Linked DNA regions of Homo sapiens: region 2 is linked to region 1. Evidence: promoter capture Hi-C in 16 types of primary human blood cells and fetal thymus (Javierre and others, 2016). All regions are on one chromosome and are shown on one strand. The core of a region is centred on a gene start or on the middle of the fragment in contact, and the rest is flanking DNA. Distances in the headings are between cores, read along the strand shown. Region 1 overlaps TFAP4 (transcription factor AP-4). Region 2 holds the start of GLYR1 (glyoxylate reductase 1 homolog).

Region 1 (6,544 bases), core at 1,669-4,168:
GAAAGTGAGCTCTGGTAAACACTGCCAGCCTGACTCTCGGCTTTTCCACGCCCTCAGGCAGCCATTCTCCAGCAGACAGCCGAGTACATCTTCTCCCTGGAGCAGGAGAAGACCAGGCTCTTGCAGCAGAACACACAGCTCAAGCGCTTCATCCAGGTGCGCCCTGTCCTTCATGGCTCCCTCTCCCTGGCATGGGCATGCCTTGGACCCAGCCATGGGCCTGGGACTCAGGTGTGGCTGCAGGCCCCTTCTTGCCCACTGACAAGTACTTCCAGGCACTTTTTTTCCTGCCCCGGCCTCAGTTTCCCCATCGGTCAAGTGCGGTGGAGTGGGCTCTGGAAGGAGCCAGGTGACTGTTATGTAAAGCAGCCCATTCTCCTGGCATTTGGCTGGTTTGTTGGACTTGCAGAAGGGGCTCCCTAATGAAGATTCACCTGTGTTGGGCAGCTTTGGGGGGCTGCGATGGAACCCCAATCTCCGTGGTGGTACCGAGGTGTCAGGCACACTGACCGACTCCTTGGGGTCCCCAGGAGCTGAGCGGCTCGTCCCCCAAGCGACGGCGGGCAGAGGACAAGGACGAAGGCATAGGCTCCCCGGACATCTGGGAGGACGAGAAGGCGGAGGACCTGCGGCGGGAGATGATTGAGCTGCGGCAGCAGCTGGACAAGGAGCGCTCGGTGCGCATGATGCTGGAGGAGCAGGTGAGGCAGCGCCCTCTGCTGGGCACGGCGCGCGGTGCAGAGGGCGTGGAGCCTGGGGTCGCGCCTCTTGCTCTGCGGCCCTCGGTGGAGCCCTATTTACAGGAGCACCTACTGCGGTGCCAGGCCTAGGAGTGGGGAGCAAGCCAGACACGTCTCTGCCCTTGGGGGCCACCGTCTGCGTTGGGGTGGGGGAGATTAGCCAAAGGATCTCAAAAATGTAACCATGCTGTGGGAGGCCGAGGCGGGTGGATCACCTGAGGTCAGCAGATCGATACCATCCTGGCTAACACGGTGAAACCCCGTCTCTACTAAAAATACAAAAAAAAAAAAAATTAGCCGGGCGTGGTGGTGGGTGCCTGTAGTCCCCGCTGTTTGGGAGGCTGAGGCAGGAGAATGGCGTGAACCTGGGAGGCAGAGCTTGCAGTGAGCCGAGATCGTGCCACTGCACTCCAGTCTGGGAGACAGAGCGAGACTCCATCTCAAAAAAAAAAAAATGTAACCGTGATGGGCTGGGTATGGTGGCTCACACCTATAATCCCAGCACTTTGCGGGGCTGAGGTGGGAGGATCGCTTGAGCCCAGGAGTTTGAGATCAGCCTGGGAAGCATAGTGAGACTCTGTCTCTACCAAAAAAGATACAAAAATTAGCCAGGTGTGGTGGGGTGTGCCTGTAGTCCCGGTTACTCAGGAGGCTGAGCTGGGAGGATTGCTTGAGCCCAGGAGGTGGAGGCTGCAGTGAGCCATGATTGTGCCACTACACTGCAGCCTGAGTGACAGAAGGAGACCATGGCTCAAAAAAACCAAAAAACAAAAACAAAAAACCATATTGAAGGCCAGGCTGGAGCTGTGGCATCAGGAGGGGTTTTTCAAGGGACGCCCCACGGCATCTCCATGGAAGTGGGAAGTTGAGTCTCATAGTTAACCAAAGGACAGAGAAAGGTGTTCCCGGCAGAGGGAATAGCATAGGCAAAGACTCGGGCAGGAGGGAGCATGGTCCAGTGGAGGCCGAGGTGGGAGGCGAGAGGAGCCGGGGGCTGAAGGGCTCTGGAAAGGCTTCTGGCCTCTGTTGAGAGGGGCCCGCCCTGTGCTAGGGTTTTCAGCAGGAGTGAATGAGCTGCTGTGAGACTGACAGGGCAGGGTGTGCTCCCGGCCTTGGCCCTGAGCCCAGGTTGTCCTGCCTCCAGGTGCGCTCGCTGGAGGCCCACATGTACCCGGAAAAGCTCAAGGTGATTGCGCAGCAGGTGCAGCTGCAGCAGCAGCAGGAACAGGTGAGGCTGCTGCACCAGGAGAAGCTGGAGCGGGAACAGCAGCAGCTGCGGACCCAGGTGAGCAGGAGGCGCCCGGGAGTGGGCTCTGGGGACCGGGAAGGGGACAGGTGATCTTGAATGGCGGAAGCCTCTCCCTAGGCCACGTCCTCTCTGCTTCTTAATATAAAGGGGCAGAGGCAGTTATACATTGGCCAGCTCTGCATGAAAGGGAGGTGGATGGGCCAAGAGAAGCCTTGAGAGAAAGGCTGAGGGCCTCTGTCTTGCAGCTTCTGCCCCCTCCGGCCCCCACCCACCACCCCACGGTGATCGTGCCAGCACCGCCTCCTCCTCCCTCCCACCACATCAATGTCGTCACCATGGGCCCCTCCTCGGTCATCAACTCTGTTTCCACATCCCGGCAAAATCTGGACACCATCGTGCAGGTACCTGAGCTTGAGAAAGGGGCAGCTTGTGGGGGTCATACTCCGGGAACAGGCTCTTTAGGGGAGACTGGAAAAGAGGGGCAGAAGCGGAGGAAGATGGTGCTTGTGTGGGAAGGGGTGGAGGGCTGGAAGCCTTGGGGGGCCCCGTCCCTGGATCTGCAAGTGGAGAATGTGAGGGCCAGAGATCGGGGCAGGGCCTACCACGCCAGTAGGAGGAGTTGGCCAGGAAGACTGTCCCTTCCCTCAATATGGGGTTTCCGGAGAGGGTCCTTTGCTCCCAGAGCCCCCTGGTTACAGAGTTCCTGCATCCAGCTCTTGGGTTGGTCCGGAACATTGTCTCAGCTCCATCTCCTAGGACCTGGATGGAGATACAGGTGGCAGGGCTGGTGATAGTTGGGCCTCCTACAGAGGAGGAAGCTTTGTGGGTCAAGCCTGAAGTTACAGTTGCATTCACCCTTGAACAGGGCCCCTTGAGGAGCCCAAGATCAGAAATCAGTAAATAATAAATAAATAACCAAAAAAGCCAAAACAGGAAAAAAAATCCATCAATCTCCTCGAATTTTAATTGCTCATAAACTTTGCAAATTGTGTAATACAATTAATAACAAACGCCTTTAATAAGTTAATAGGCAAGCTTTAAAATACATAAACATATGGCCGGGTGTGGTGGCTCACACCTGCAATCCCAGCACTTTGGGAGGCCAAAGTGGGTGGATCACTTGAGGTCAGGAGTTCGAGACCAGCCTGGCCAACATGGTGAAAACCCCATCTCTATTAAAAATACAAAAATTAGCCTGACGTGGTGGTGCACGCCTGTAATCCCAGCTATTCGGGAGGCTGAGGCAGGAGAATCGCTTGAACATGGGAGGTGGAAGTTGCAGTGAGCTGAGATTGCACCACTGAACTCCAGCCTGGGTGACACGGTGAGACTCTTTCTCAAAAAACAAACAAACAAAAACATATGAAAGGTCCATATTATTTCTTTTTTTTTCTTTTTTTTTGAGATAGAGTTTCGCTCTTATTGCCCAGGCTGGAGTGCAATGGTGCTATCTCAGCTCATCGCAACCTCCTCCTCCCAGGTTCAAGTGATTCTCCTGCCTCAGCCTCCCAAGTAGCTGGGATTATAGGCATGTGCCACCACGCCTGGCAAATTTTGTATTTTTAGTAGGCTTCTGGCCTCTGTTGAGGGGCTGGTCTCGAACTCCTGACGTCAGGTGATCCTCCCGTCTTGGCCTCCCAAAGTGTTGGGATTACAGGCGTGAGCCACTGCGCCTGGCTGATACATATAATATAATTTCTAAGCAGCACTGGGACTGTCATCTTCCCAGAATGGATTTTTCAACTTAACAGAGGGGTTTTGAAAGTTTGTTCCTGGGTCAGGCGTGGTGGCTTATGCCTGTAATCCCGGGACTTTTGGAGGTTGAGGCAGGAAGATTGCCTGAGGTCAGGAGTTCGAGATCAGCTTGGGCAACATAGCAAGAACCCCCTCGTCTCTACCAAAAATACAGAAGTTAGCTGGGGATGGTGGCGCACCCCTGTGGTTCCAGCTACTAGGGAGGGAGCAGTAGGAGGATCGCTGGAGCCCAGGAGTCTGACTGCAGTAAGCTATGATCATGCCACTGCACTCTAGCCTGGGTGATATAGCGAGAGCTTGTCTCCAAAAAAAAAGTAAAAGGAGTTTGTTTTTCCTGTACTCTAGCGGGCCTCCCCTGCTGCTTTGCCAGGCTTTTTTCTGGGCTATGTGTTTTGGGGGTGACAGTGGCTGGCTGAGAGCCCCCACTGTCTCCTGGCTGGCCATGTATCCCCGGCCGAGCCTTCTCAGTGGTTCGTCCCTGTCCAGGCAATCCAGCACATCGAGGGCACCCAGGAAAAGCAGGAGCTGGAGGAGGAGCAGCGGCGAGCTGTCATCGTGAAGCCTGTCCGCAGCTGCCCGGAGGCCCCCACCTCTGACACCGCCTCCGACTCCGAGGCCTCAGACAGTGACGCCATGGACCAGAGCCGGGAGGAGCCGTCGGGGGACGGGGAGCTTCCCTGACTACCCCCCCAGCCCTCCTCTCCCTTCTGGGGGCTGGAGGGAGCCGGGGCAGCCACAGGGAGAGACATGGGCGAATGAGTGAGAAATTTTTACAAAATTACGATGTCATTTGGGTCTCTTTTATGACCTCTTTTTCAATACTGTAAATCGACCTTTGAACGAAGCCACTCAACCCGAGGTCCCGGGGCTGGGGTGTCGCAGAGCGTGTGGGAGCATCGGCACCCCAGGGCGGGGCCTCGGCCCCGGGGGCTGGAGGAAGCTGACACGGAGATGCCTGGCCTCTCTCTGCCAAAAAGCATTTTTTCCTTTAAATATGTTTTTTAAGAACAGGGAAAATTAAACAAAACCCCAGGTTATTTCTTCCCTGCCCAGAGCCAGCCTGGGATTGTCAGCCTTCAATCCCCTTTCCTTCCTCTTTTTGGGTTTTCTTCTTTCTCCTTTAAGCACTTACATGGTTGGGGGTAAGACTAGGCTGGGGCATTCTGGGGGCCCGGAGGTCTCCGTTGCTTCTTGGTTGGGGTTTGCTGCTGCTGTGCCCCCCTCCCCCTTCCCCATCTCGGCACTAGAATTCGCCACTCTCCCACCCCCCAGCCCCCACCTCTGCCTCCAGGTCTCATCTTCCACCCCAAAAATGTCTGTCTCTCTCTTTTTGTTTTGTTTGTTGTTGGTTTTTTATTTCTTTTTGGTTTGCTTTCTGTTTTTGTTTTGTTTTTCTTTTTTTTCTTTCTTTTTTTTTTTTTTTTACAATTTTGAGGTCTTCGTGTTCAAGGAGAAGCTATTATATTTTGTTAAGAAAGTGGGGAGAAAAAAACCAAGAGGCCACCGTGCCTTTGTAAAGAAACAAAATAAAGTTTGTACTTTGTTTTTTAGATTCTGAGTCTCCTGGGTGTGGGCTGGCCTGAAGACCAGGGCAGGGCTACCCCATCTAGAGTAGGGGGGCTCCTTGGGCCCCCCAAAGCGGACTGGGTGTGTGTGAGCACAGTTACTCCCTCAGCTTGTGTGTGGTGTTGCGATGAAAAATTGGGGTCCTCAGTTTCCCTGGGATGACCCTGGGTATTCTGTAAAGATGGAAGATGGTGTTGAGGCTGGGGAGTGGCTCTTTGGTGGGCGGCAAGGAGAGAAGGACAACCAAGCCACCGATTCCGAAAACCTGGGAAAGGACACAGGTGTTCAGGGGCCCTGCTTGGTCCCTACGCTTTGGTTAATCCCTAGGTTTTGCCACTTCCTGGGCTTCTGTAACTTCTCTGAGCCTCATCCTCTCCTCCCCTAGGAGGGGAACCCCACCCCCTCCAACCGCACCCCCCCAGCACCCCCCTGCCCCCCCGTGGTGTGGTGTTTAAGTGCTAAGATCCTGGAATTGGTCTGCCAGAGGTCAGTTCCCCCTCTGACAAACCGCTTCCTCTGAGCCTCAATTTCTTCTTCTAAAAATTGGCGATAATAACGGCACAAGGACATTGCATCCTATTGGGGATTGGCATGGTCCTTTATTTCGAGACAGAGTCTCTGTCTCCCAGTCTGGAGTGCAGTGGCGTGATCTCGGCTCACTGCATCCTCTATCTCCTGGGTTCAAGCAATCTTCTTGCCTCAGCCTCTCAAGTAGCTGGGACTACGGGAGTGCACCACCATGCCCAGCTAATTTTTGTATTTTTAGTAGAGACAGGGTTTCACCATGTTGACCAGGCTGGTCTTGAACTCCTGACCTCAAGTGATCCGCCTACCTCGGCCTCCCAAAGTTCTGGGATTAAAGGGATGAGCCACCATGCCTGGCTATTTTTAAATTTTTATTATTATTTTTTGGTGTGAGATGGGGTCCTGCTCTGTCGCCCAGGCTGCAGTGCAGTGTTTTGATCACAGTTCACTGCATCCTTGACCTCCTGGTCTCAAGTGATCCTCCCACCTCAGCCTCCCTAGTAGCTAGGACTACAGGCCTGTACCACAAAGCCTGGCTAATTTTTTTTTTTTTTTTTTTTTTTGAGATGGAGTCTTGCTGTGTCACCCAGGCTGGAATGCAATGGCACGATCTTGGCTCACTGGAACCTCTGCCTCACAGGTTCAAGCGATTCTCCTGCCTCAACCTCCTGAGTAGCTGGGACTACAGGCACCCACCATCATGCCCAGC
Region 2 (5,775 bases), core at 1,225-3,724, 590 kb before region 1:
AATTAGCCAGGTATGGTGGCACACCCCTGTAGTCTTGGCTACTAAGGAGGCTGAGGTGGGAGGATGGCTTTAGACTGGGAAGGTCCAGGCTGCAGTGAGCCGTGATCCTGCCACTGCACTCCAGCCTGGGCGACAAGAGTGAAACTCCGTCTCAAACAAAAAAAAGAAAAAAACAAAGATCCCCCTTTAAAAACCTCAGTTGGTGTTACTGAGAAAATACTAGCCTTCCTTGTCCCTTGGTTATCCTCAGCAATTTTTAATTTTTTCTTACTATATATATATATATCTCCTTCTAAACATTGTATTTTCAAACTGGTTATTGATGAAACAGAAAAACTAAATTGTGCATTCCAACTTATAATGAGTACCCTTCCTGAATTCTTATTTTAATGGGTTTTTTGGTTTTTGTTTTTGTTTTCAAAATAGGCAGACCTATCATCCACGGAAATGAGAATTCTGTCTTCCCTTTTCCAAAAATTGCATTTCTTATTTTTGTTTCCTGTCTTACTGCACTGGCTAGAACTTTCAGGTTTTAGGCAATATATTCTTATTATCTAATAGTGGTAGAAATGTACCATGTTTCTGATGTTAAGGGGAATGCCTCTAGGTTTTGGTGCAATGTTCATTTGAGATTTTTTTTTCTTTTTTCTTTTTGGCGGGGGGACGAGTCTCGCTCGCTCTGTCGCCTAGCTGGAGTGCAGTGACATAATCTCGGCTCACGGCAACCTCCGCTTCCCGGGTTAAGCGATTCTCCTGCCTCAGCCTCCCAAGTAGCTGGGACTACAGGCATGCGCCACCACGCCCGGCTAATTTTGTATTTTTAGTAGAGTACTGGGTTTGACCGTGTTGGCCAGGCTGGTCTCGAACTCCTGATCTCAGGTGGTCCACCCGCCTCGGCATCCCAAAATGCTGGGATTACAGGCTTATACCACCCTGCCCGGCCAAGATTCATGTTTTTATTTAAGTTATTAAAATCTCATTCAATTCCTCACAAATTCAGAATTTTTAAACAGGAACTTATGTTAAATTTTTATCAAATTATTCCCTGGAATCTTAAATACGCTTTAAAGATCACTTTGTCTTAAAAATACACACGCAGTAAATGACAGTCCGTGCAGCTAATTCTTGGTACTTCAGGGAAACTGATCTCCCAAGAAAAATCAGGCTGCGGGACGACCCAGTACGCTAAACACCGACTTGCAACCGAAATCTCTAACCACCACAATGCCTTGGGGAAATGCGTGTCGACTCGCCACCTTTGCCAGCTGGCAGTGACTCAACAAGAGCCCGACACCAAGTCTAAGTCAATCCTTAACACTGTGGAGTCTGTGATCGGGACTGGGATCTTTTGCAAAATTGTGATTCTACCTGGTCTGCTGAAGTTTGGGCCGACGCTGCGCTCAACTGCAGTTAACACTTCCCAGTTCATGGTTCAGTTTTAAAGTGTCCAAACTACGCCCGGCATCTGTCTTCCTGTTGTCACAACTTTTTCAAAAGTGCAAAACTAGGGCAAGGCTAACGAGAGAGCCCGGACCCGACAACGACACGCACCTTTGTCCCCAGCGCCGACGCGGGCCGCAGACGTCCCCCCGCGGCGGTCCTCATGCCGGTCCCCGGGCGGCGGCGCAGCTAGCGGTCGGCTGCTAAGCCGTGGCTCCCAGCGGGCGGGCGGCCCGCGCCTCGGCCCATGGCCGGGTCCCCGAGCCCAGGGGAGCCTGGTGTGCCGCGCCGCGCGCCGGCCCAGGAGGAAGCGAAGAAATGCCAACTCGACGTCCGCGCAGCCACTCCGGGGACACCAGGGGGTCGGGGGAGCAGCCTCCGGTCGCCCCAGGAGAACTTGCGGCGCGGGACCCCGCGCTCAGACGGCGCCTCCGAAAGCGGCCGTCGGGAGGAGCGCTCCAAAGAACACGGGCGGCGGGAGCGGACGGGCGCGGACACCGGGGCCTCCCGGCCTGCGGCCAAGCAGAGTTGCCGGGCGCGGGAGCCCAGACCCGGCGGAGGCTGAGTTCCAGGCCGCGCCGAGCTCCGTCAGGGTAGCTCACTGGCGCTGCGACGGGGCCGACCAGCGCCTCGGGCTCGGGAATGGCCCCGGGGCCCGCGCCGGACCAACGGGCGTAACGGAAGCGCCGAGAGGGGAGGGGCGCGGAGTCCAAGACCCGGGGGCGGGGCGAGCCGCGAGGCCGGCTCCCTCTCGCGCTCAGCCGGTCGCACCGTCGCCGCCGCCGCCGCCTCAGACCGCGGGCGCTTCGTTGTCACGAGCCGAAGGGAGGGGGAAGGAGCCGGGAGTCTCTGCGCTCCGGCGCGCGGAGACCGCGGCGCTCGCGTCACGTGCCCCTCGGTCGACCAATGATCCCCGGCGGGCGCGGTGACGTCAGAGTAGCGGCGTGGCCAGTGACAGCCGGCCCCCGTCACGTGGTCGGGCCCACTCCAATGGGCGGCGCCGGGGCGACTTGCTGTTCCCGGCGGCCCGTGCGTCGGCGGTGGTTGGGTGGTAAGATGGCGGCTGTGAGTCTGCGGCTCGGCGACTTGGTGTGGTGAGTCCGAGCGGCCGGGCCAACCGAGACGCGCCGGGGAGCTACCCGCCTGGGCGCGGGGTTCGCTGCCGGCCCTGGAGCTGCCTTTTTATGCGCTCCAGGTCGCGGAGAGAGGGGAAGAGAAGGTGCCGGCGCTTGCGAGCGGCGCCAGGCGGAAGGGGCAGTCCAGTCCCGGGGGACCGAGGCCGAGGGTGGCCACGTCGGGCACCGGCTTTGATCCCCGAGGCCGGCCGGGTGGGGTCTGCACTCGGGGCCCAGATACTGGCGGCCCCCGTGAAGGGAGCCGCCGGTGCCGCGAGGCTTCCCCGGACGACCGGTCCCCGGGGTCTTGTTGGGGCTTCCCAGAAAGCAGAAGCGCCGGGGACCGGACCTGCGAGATCTGGCCGGTGCCATTCGGTCAAAGCCCAGGTTGCGATGCAGCCGACCTGTGCGGCCGGCTCAGCCGGGGTTGTCTAAACCGGACTGCTGGCGTTGCCCCGCGAAGAAACGGCGGGGGGACTTCTCCTTTACAACCGATGGCTTGGCAGTGACCAGTGCACGCTTGGGTGCCTCCCGCGGTCTGCTTCTGTGTCCCAGACAACCGCCCGAACCAAGACTTTGTCGCCGCCTCCCTCGAGCTGCGTAGCTTGTTTCTCCACCCAGAGGAAGGCTTCCATTAGCATTTGTCAAAGCCAGGCAGGTCTCCTGTTGAATTAAACCAGACTTAGGGAGGGAAAGTCTGTGTTTACAGAGGAAGCTGTCCTCCCACCCCCGTCATTAAGAAGCTCTAGACAAGTGACTTTTGACAGTTGTGTTGTTCTGTATTCCTTGTCAACAGAAGAATGGATATGCGTTGTGCACATAAGTATACAATTTTGCATTTTACTTCTGAGGGTGTTGGGCCCAGCTATGAAAGCTTTTGTTTCGGCATTTGAGGATGCCAGCAGAGATTTAGGAAAATAAATTGCGTATTGAGTGGGTTGAAGGAGATGGACTGGCTTTTGCAGGGCAAGTGTTGACTCTTTGTGTTTTCTCTAGGGGGAAACTCGGCCGATATCCTCCTTGGCCAGGAAAGGTGAGTGTCTTGCTACTAAAGGAAGAGATCTGAAGTTGGGTTTGAAGAGGTGGAGAATGTAAGATGCATTCCTCTCAGTTTCTAGTATTGAGTTAAATTGGGCTCATTCAGATGGCACTTAGAATTTTTTTTCCCCTAGTATCGGTTATTTTTTAAAAGGCAATGCAGTATACACCAGATCATTAAATCTTCTCTAAACCCTTATTTCTGGATTTAGAGGAGGTTTATGAAGTTTCTTTTTTAACCCCGGAAATAATTCTAGTCTGAATTTAGCTTTATGCTTAAATGTAACAAAAGGAGAAGAAAATATAAATTATCCAGGAAGAAAGTCTAAATGTAGGTTAGTGAAAAGCCAAAGTATTTTTGTCCCAACTAAGTTTAAATCTTCTTTCCATGTTACCATATGTGCTACTCCAGTGCCTCTTTGCAGAAGTTGGCATTCCAGATTTTGCATGAGGTGATCCATCATTGCTTTCCAAATGTTGTGTTTTTATATTCTTGCTTGGAGCCCGGGAGGTGTCTTTAGATGGTCTCTTTGCAATATGGTGTTTTCTGTGCCTCGGTTGTCCTTTGTTTTCACTATGTCCTGTGTCAACCCTTCCTGCACAGGAAGTATTTCAAAGAGTGTCGTCTGCATTTTTTCAGTAATAATGGGGTCACATTGGAGCAGGGGTGGGGTGGTGGGGGGCAGGGGATGCTGTTGATCTTAGTTTTAACTGCTTGTAAAACAGGGCCACTGCAGTAAAAGGGATATTGTGTCTACTGAGCACTGTGCTACATGTTAAATATTGGGAACTTCTAGAATATCTACACATTTCCATACACCTCAATAGAAAAATGGGAGATTTAGACAAGTACTAGGCCTTGGGTTCTGTTTTGTATATAAATAAATTTATTTGTAAGTAAGTCCTTTTAATTTACTTTTTTCTTAGCAACGTAGAACTGTAGAGCAATGTGGAGCCACTAGAAAGTGGGCTGCTGTGTTGCCAGCCAACCTTTTTCCCCCCTTTTATCCTCCAGATTGTTAATCCACCAAAGGACTTGAAGAAACCTCGCGGAAAGAAATGCTTCTTTGTGAAATTTTTTGGAACAGAAGATCAGTGAGTAGTACTCACCAGGAGTCTCCCTTCGCCTTTCTTTCTGTGTTACCTGGAGTCTGAGCTGCTTTGAAAATATTCTAAGGATCCTTAGTTCAGTCTTCTTATAATGTGTAATACTGGCATCTCATTCTGCCTTCATACCTAAATAAAGGTGCAATTTCTTGCAGAAATTGCCCTAGACAACTGTCCTAGGTCTATAACTAAGTCAGGCAAGAACTAGGTTCATTTACCTTCTAACTATAACAATCACATTGAAACAGTTTCTCACATGTTTCTTTACCCAACTCCAAAGGCAGTTCCTTTTTGTTTGTTTTTGAGACAGAGACTTAGTCTGTCACCCAGCCTGGAGTGCAGAGGCAGTCTCAGTTCACCGCAACCTCTGCCTCACTGACTCAAGCGGTTCTCTCACCTCAGCCTCCCGAGTAGCTGGGACCACAGGTGTGCACCACCATGCCCAGCTAATTTTTTGTAGAGGGGGTTTTACCATGTTGCCCAGGATGTTCTTGAACTCCTGGACTCAAGCAATCCACCTGCCTTGGCCTCCCAAAGTGCTGGATTATAGGCGTGAGCCACTGCGCCCAGCTGGCAATTATTTTTATAAAAGCCATGTTCAGTTCTCTTTTAATGCCATATATCATTATGGTTCATGCTTGGGGTATACAGTGGAAACTTTTATTTATGTTAATAAAAGTAATTGTTCAATCATGTTCTCATGTGTAAAACTAAGTGATTTGCTTTGACATTGTTATAGTAAGTCTTTTTACCAGATCTGTCCTAAGTTGGGGAAACCAGGACCATTAATCTGAGACTCTGACCATATAACATGTTACAGTGACGGGAAGAACGTGAAGAACCTGTATTAACTTGAGTTGCTAGTGATTTGTTTAGCTTTTTATCACTATGTCAAGTGGCTTACCTGGGTCTAGCTAGATGGTTTGATTTTTTTTTTTTTTTTTTTTTGAGATGGAGTTTCACTCTGTCACCCAGGCTGGAGTGCAGTGGCATGATCTCAGCTCACTGCAACCTCCACCTCTCGGGTACAAGTGATTCTGGTGCCTGAGCCTCCCGAGTAGCTGGGACTACAGGC

Evidence for each region. The method cuts DNA at HindIII sites, captures the fragments that hold promoters and counts their contacts. A CHiCAGO score of 5 or more calls a contact.
Region 2: a contact is called between the fragment with the promoter of GLYR1 here and a fragment that was not itself captured in region 1, in 5 of 17 cell types (total CD8 T cells, naive CD8 T cells, fetal thymus and 2 more). The highest score is 8.6, in total CD8 T cells.

What each region holds. Positions count from the first base shown.
Region 1 is chr16:4,255,936-4,262,479 of GRCh38, reverse strand. TFAP4 (transcription factor AP-4) reads left to right here. Exons shown (of 7, transcript NM_003223.3): 3 at 58-156; 4 at 531-701; 5 at 1,885-2,025; 6 at 2,235-2,390; 7 at 4,231-5,294. The coding sequence ends at 4,425. Among named protein-coding and RNA genes, the nearest start is that of LINC01569, 5.4 kb to the right of the region's middle. The HindIII fragment of the contact is 217 bases long and covers 2,810-3,026 here.
Region 2 is chr16:4,843,987-4,849,761 of GRCh38, reverse strand. It overlaps GLYR1 (glyoxylate reductase 1 homolog), which reads left to right and starts at 2,474. Exons shown (of 16, transcript NM_032569.4): 1 at 2,474-2,534; 2 at 3,552-3,588; 3 at 4,609-4,688. The coding sequence starts at 2,497. It overlaps UBN1 (ubinuclein 1), which reads right to left and starts at 2,281. Exons shown (of 18, transcript NM_001079514.3): 1 at 1,552-2,281. RefSeq lists silencers at 1,601-1,690, 1,701-2,420 and enhancers at 1,473-2,315, 2,611-2,670, 2,971-3,030. The HindIII fragment of the contact is 6,120 bases long and covers 1-3,431 here.